2 separate regions of the Homo sapiens genome follow, and region 1 is linked to region 2. Evidence: promoter capture Hi-C in 16 types of primary human blood cells and fetal thymus (Javierre and others, 2016). All regions are on one chromosome and are shown on one strand. Each heading gives the region's core, a stretch centred on a gene start or on the middle of the fragment in contact. The rest is flanking DNA. Distances are from core to core; before and after follow the strand shown.

Region 1 (3,118 bases), core at 554-3,053, 7.4 Mb after region 2:
CCGTGCTCGGTACTTGAAATCCCGGCAAGCTCGGCGGCGCTTTAGCTCCGCCTCTCTCCTCCTTTGCTCACGAACCCCGCCCCAGCCCGCCCCGCCCCGCGCCGGGGCCGGAGCCGCAGCCCGAGCGGCGGGGTAAGATGGCGGCGGCAGTCCGGGCCGCGGGGCTCGGGCCTATTGGGGTGGGCGGGGCGGAGTTGGGTCGCTAGTTGTCCCGGGGTCCTCCCCACAAGCCACGGGTCCTAGAGGGCTTCTCGGGGCGGTCTCGGGCCCGGCAGCTGCGGCGAAACCTGGCGCCGAGAGGGGGGCCTTCTCAGGGCCCCGGGACGCATCCGTGGGTTCCTGGGGGCGTCTATGGGGCGTCTCCGAGAGGACTTGGGGCGTCTCTGGGCCTAGACCGAGCCTAAGGCCTGCCCTCCATCACACAGCTGGCCTGGATCGTGTCTGTAGACACTGTAGATTGTCTTTTTGGGCTGACCGGAGGCTAGGGTCTGGTTAGAGGGTTCTGGGGCCATCTTGAGATCTTGAGATATGTCCCAGGGGTGAAGGAGGGTCTGCAAGACCTGAAGAGTATCTTCAGAGCCATCTAGAGGCCTGGGGTATGTCTTTTAGGGCTGGAAAGTGTCTGCATGGGCTGGCCTGAGGATGCAACTGGTCTGCATAAGTCTGGGGCCATTTATCAGGCCTAGAAGGAGTGTTCAAGGGCTAAGAAGTCATTTAGGGCCCCCTAGGGGGTTGGGTTATGCCCACCAGGGAAGGGCGCCAAATATTGAGATGTACTGAGGGTCTGGGGTCTCCAAGGTATGGGTAGTGTCTAATAATGGGTGACAGGAGGCTGGGGGCAGTTAGAAGGACCTGGAACCATCTAGATGGCTTTAATGTGACTGCAGGAATGCAGTTTTGATGCCTGGAGCAAATTCGAATGCCTTTGGGGTCAGAGCAGCTTGTGGCGAATAATAATACGGAAAGAGAATGAGGAAATTTTGCCCAGCTTAGATATACTTGCCCTTCAGACAGTAATTCAAATGAAAAATGTTTTAAGATTCTGCATTACCCTGGGGGTTATTGAGAGAGTTAGAATTAATCTACATTAGTCTGGAAGAGTCTGGAGGGTCATCTAGACCCACTATTACAGTGCTTTTCAAGGGGAAACCTGGGCCATGTTGACCGTGATCTGCATTAAGATACATTTTTTCATTGAGACCTGGTACAGACAGTCATAATGTATTTAACATTATATAACATAATGTATTAACATTAACTCACCTTCCACGAATTGACATTTCCACTTACTACTTGTGCTGTGCTGTGAAGAACTATTTTGTTCTATTTACTTTTTAAAACAAGCTATTTGTGAAGCACTAAACTGGTATATGACCCTGTTGTTGGGGAAACCACTGATCCAGATAGGACCTAGCAGTATCTGCAGAGCATTCTTCTGTTCAGAAGATCTCAGTAGCTGAGGGTGTGTCTGCGAAGCCTGGTGCTTTCTAAATGAGCAAGCAAGCATCTTTGTATACTGCAGAGGGTTTGGGGATCCCTCAGCCTGTAGTCAGCAGATGTTGATTAAGCTTCTGATATGTGACAGTCACTGTTGTAGGTAGCATGTGCTTCCCCGGGAGGTGCTGGAGAGCAGTTCCAGGGCCAGGAACTGGGGCTGAGCTTATTGAGTATTGGTGAAAGAGGCTGGGATGTAATAGACTATCAGGGTTGGGTGTGTCTTAGGAAGTTAGGAATTAGGTGGAGCTGGGAGGCTGAATATGGAGGCTTGGCATGGTTTGAAAATCTATATGGGATCTAGAACAGGACCAGGGCCTTGTCTTTGCAGGCATGCTGTGGGGGAAGCGAGGAGACAGATGTAGGGGAAACCTGGGCGTTAAGGGCTAATAGTGTCATTCCTCTTCATCCGTATTGAGCACTTGAGGTGCTCTAAATGTGTGGCAGAAGTCAGGCTTTGAGTATTCACAGCCATTCTCTGAGATAGATGCTCCTATTTCGTGCATTTACAATTAAGCATACTGAGTTGTGGGTTAGGGATTTTGAAGCTTTCTAGGAATTTTGAGATTGGATATTGTCTTATGAGTAGCAGATTTGACAGTCATGGGGAAGCTTACAGCTGAAATATTCATATTTTTCTGAAGCCCTAATCAAGACATCCACCTGTTTGATGGATGATCTTTCAACTGCCTGACTGGGGAATCATATCAAAGAATTTCCATGACATTGCAAAGGCTTTGTGCAGATGGCGATAGGTAAATGCCTCCTGTGAAGTTTTCCTTCGGCATGTCTTTCTGAAGTTTAGCGTTTTCATTTTAAAAATGGCATACTGGTTTTGCAGATCACTCAATGAAGTTTCCAACTTAGGTGTATAAATACAATTTGGGGGTGGTCCTCACCATCGAGGACAGTTGATGCTCTAGGAAGCCGTGTGGTGTTTAAGGCATGGTGTTGAATATTGCCCAGCACATTGGCCTTGGGAAAGGTGGGTTTATAGGACTGTGGAACACACCCTTTGAAATCACAGTGCAGCACACACAAAAAACCTTGGTGTTGGCTTTGCCTCTTAGGAGGCCAGGGAATGAGGTCTTGAAGTTTGGATAGGTTGTTGGGGAAGCTGCGGGAATTGAGGAGTGAGATGTTAAAAGCGGAGGCCAGGGAGGCCTCCCTTTGACATAAGAGGCACCTGAGACCCAGAAAAAAGGAAGAGAATTGCTCCTAGTCCCTGGGGTGTCTGTGCTGGGTCCAGCGCCCACCCAAGCACAGGGTGGAGTGGGAGGAGGTGGAGGAGAGGAGGGGTGCCAGAGGGGATGCTGAGGGAGATAGTGTGGGGCCCTTGAGGTCTTCATGTCTATCCTCTACTTCCATCCTTTCTCCCGGGACCTCCACTCCAAACTCTCCCCCCTGGACCCCCAGGTGACCATGGAGGAAGAAGATGAGTCTCGAGGGAAGACAGAGGAGTCGGGGGAGGATCGGGGCGATGGTCCGCCAGACAGAGACCCCACGCTTTCTCCTTCTGCCTTTATCCTGGTGAGGCTGCTGGGCTCCTGGCACTGAGGGATGGAGGAGCTGGGCATCCACACTCCAGGGGCCTGACTCCAGGGCCTGAGGCAGGGGCGCTGGA
Region 2 (2,794 bases), core at 283-2,782:
ACTGCAACCTCCGCCTGCTGGGTTCAAGCGATTCTCCTGCCTCAGCCTCCCGAGAAGCTGGGATTACAGGCGCCCGCCACCACGCCCAGCTAATTTTTTATATTTTTAGTAGAGACAGGGTTCCACCAGTTGGCCAGGCTGGTCTCGAACTCCTGACCGCAGGTGATCCGCCCACCTCAGCCTCCCAAAGTGCTGGGATTACAGGCGTGAGCCACCGCGCCCGGCCACCAAATCCATTTTGAGGGGCCAGTGACAAGTTCTTTCAGAGGGAGATAACCCTACATCACTTTTTTTTTTCAGAGCCAATGACACCATACCTTAGAACAATTATTAAAAAAGTATAACCTTAGATCCATATTCTGTAGGAAACTGTGACCTACCCTGCTCCATTCCATTTTTGTTAAAGGAGACACACCAAGCCATGTATTTTAAAACATGGACTATGGACTTGGTTTGAAGGATATGCTGACTCCCAATGTCTTTATATCTAAAAGGCAGTAACTATTAATTCTCACCATTGGCAGTACAGCTCAACAAGATTTAGGGTGGGTAATGATGCCAGGTCTTGGTTTTAATAGGGAAGATGATCTGAGTACCAGGTTTGGAAAGCCTGGCCCTATTCTTTGGGGACAAAACACAGTAACCTCAAAGCCCTGCTTCTAAGTGATATTCGCTCCAAATCCCCATCTTCTGAAGGACAGGGAATGCAGATCCCTCTTTTTCGGGGTTGGTCTTATTCTTGTTCTCTTAGGAGACAATAACCCTAGATCCCCATTTGCAAGCGACTGTGACCTCTGATCCAATATTATAATGAATAGCAACATCAGATACCTGTTCTTAAGGCTCAAGGACCCAAGACCTCAATAATGGAAGAACAGAGACTTGTAACCCGTTTCTTTAAGTGTTAGTAATTCTGATCCACGAGTAATTCTGATCTCCAAGAGATGGTAACCCCAAGACTCCTTTTCCTGGGAGGAAGAGGGCTCGGATCCCCGGTATGGGGAGGCACAGTGACCTCGAGCTCCTATCTAAGCACATGAAAGAATCTGATGGATGTCTGAGGAGCTTTGGGAACCCTAATCACCACCCTACACGGGCGCCACTAGTACTCACGGCCCAGCTTCACCCCGGGCGGCGGGAAGCTAGTGCCTGCGCCGGGGCCTCCGCTGCCTCCTCCGCCGCTGCCGCCGGGTCCACCCCCGGAGCTCGAGGCCCCGACGCCCCCACCCATGGCCCCGACAGATGCCTTTCCGCCGCCGGTGCCGCCTGGGCCGGAGGCCGAGCCTCCGGGGCCGCCGCCGCCTCCTCCGCCTCCGCCGCCGGGCTCCGCGAACGAGCTAGTCCGCGCCCTGCCCGAGCCCCCAGGGCCGCCTCCCGAAGGCCCGCCGCCGCTCATGGCGCCGAGCACAGGCCCAGGCTGCGGGGCTCGGGCTGCCCGGGCTGCCCCAGCCGCCGCCGCTGCCGCCGCCTCCCCCGGGCCCTGGCCTCTTCCAGGCCGCGCCGCTCTGGCTTGGGCTCCGGCTCCGGCCCAGCGCCCGCCGCGGGGCACGCCGGGAGATGCAGTCCGGCTGTCGTCCGCGCCGCCGTCACCGCCCTCGGCCCGCACAGAGAGCCGCGTGGCACGCCGGGAAATGAAGTCCACAAAAGCCTCAGAGTAGACCGCGGGAATGATGGGCGGGAATGACGGGTCACGCTGTACGTCGGGAAATGGAGTCCAGGGTAATCTGTCAGCCGACTGTACGACGGGGAGCCCTGAAGCACTTTAGGAAGCAGAGAGCCTGATGCACGCTGGGAAACGGAGTCCACTCACTCAGTCTATTAGCTGTGTATGCCTCCCAGAGCTCGGTGCGCTCTGGGAAATTGAGTCGGCCCGCGTGAACCTGCGGGTCTCGGGCCGTGAGGCAAGCCGGGAAATGGAGTCGTCGCCACGCCCTCACCGCATTGCAGGTGTAAAGCGATTTTTAAAGCACGCCGGGAAATGGAGTCTCAGGTGGTTTTTAAGCCCCAGGTGGATACTGCAGTTCCGGAGATGGGCGAGGAAATGGAGTAGGTTTACGCGCTCCTCTTTCCAGGTACGCTGGGCCGCAGTCCCTGCCGGGAAGTGTAGTCAGCACCAAGGCCTCAGTGCAGTTGCCACAGCGAGCCCTGGTGTGTTCTGGGAAATGGAGTTCGACGTATCCTCCCCATTGACTGAGGGGGCGGGATCGCCCATGAGCTCCAAGCATGCTGGGGAATAGTCCAGACCTGACCCTCTGTGAGGCCAGTCTGCGGAGGCTTGCCGGGAAGCGAAGTCCAATGGCCACCATCAGGGGCGTGTGAACGAAAGGTTAGAGACTGCGGCAGTTCCCTGGAGAGACTTAAAAGTGTTTCAGCGCCTCCTTCCTCGCCCCCAGGTCCTTCTTTAAGAAAGAGCCGAGGTCGATCAAGGACTGCTGGAAAATGGATCCAAGCACCTTTAAGTTCCAGGTGACCATAGATCAGGAAAGAAAAAATGTCCCCTCTCTAACCGCAACTCTGCAAAGATTCGGGAAACAAAGTTCCCGGCGGTTTCTCAGAACACTAACTAGTCTTCGGATACAGTCTAGCTTTTCCTAGCAATGTGGTTCGCACCAGGAAGCTGAATGGAGCATTAAAAAGACGGAAATGTCATTTCTGGGCCTGGCGCTGTGGCTCAGGCTGGGCGCCAGTAGCTCACGCCTGTAATCCTAGCACTTTGGGAGGCCGAGGCTGGCGGATCATCCGAGGTCAGGAGTTCGAGACCAGCCTGGCCAACATAGCGAAACCCCCGTCTCTA

Evidence for each region. Contacts are between HindIII fragments. The CHiCAGO score rates a contact against its expected background, and 5 or more counts as called.
Region 1: a contact is called between a fragment that was not itself captured here and the fragment with the promoter of GSK3A in region 2, in 1 of 17 cell types (non-activated CD4 T cells). The highest score is 6.1, in non-activated CD4 T cells.

What each region holds. Positions count from the first base shown.
Region 1 is chr19:49,642,111-49,645,228 of GRCh38, forward strand. SCAF1 (SR-related CTD associated factor 1) reads left to right here and starts at 99. Exons shown (of 11, transcript NM_021228.3): 1 at 99-132; 2 at 2,911-3,024. The coding sequence starts at 2,917. RefSeq lists a silencer at 20-309. The HindIII fragment of the contact is 474 bases long and covers 1,567-2,040 here.
Region 2 is chr19:42,241,070-42,243,863 of GRCh38, forward strand. It overlaps GSK3A (glycogen synthase kinase 3 alpha), which reads right to left and starts at 1,533. Exons shown (of 11, transcript NM_019884.3): 1 at 1,114-1,533. The coding sequence starts at 1,396. RefSeq lists silencers at 1,075-1,354, 1,385-1,594 and enhancers at 1,885-2,094, 2,024-2,794, 2,155-2,204. The HindIII fragment of the contact is 12,371 bases long and covers 1-2,794 here.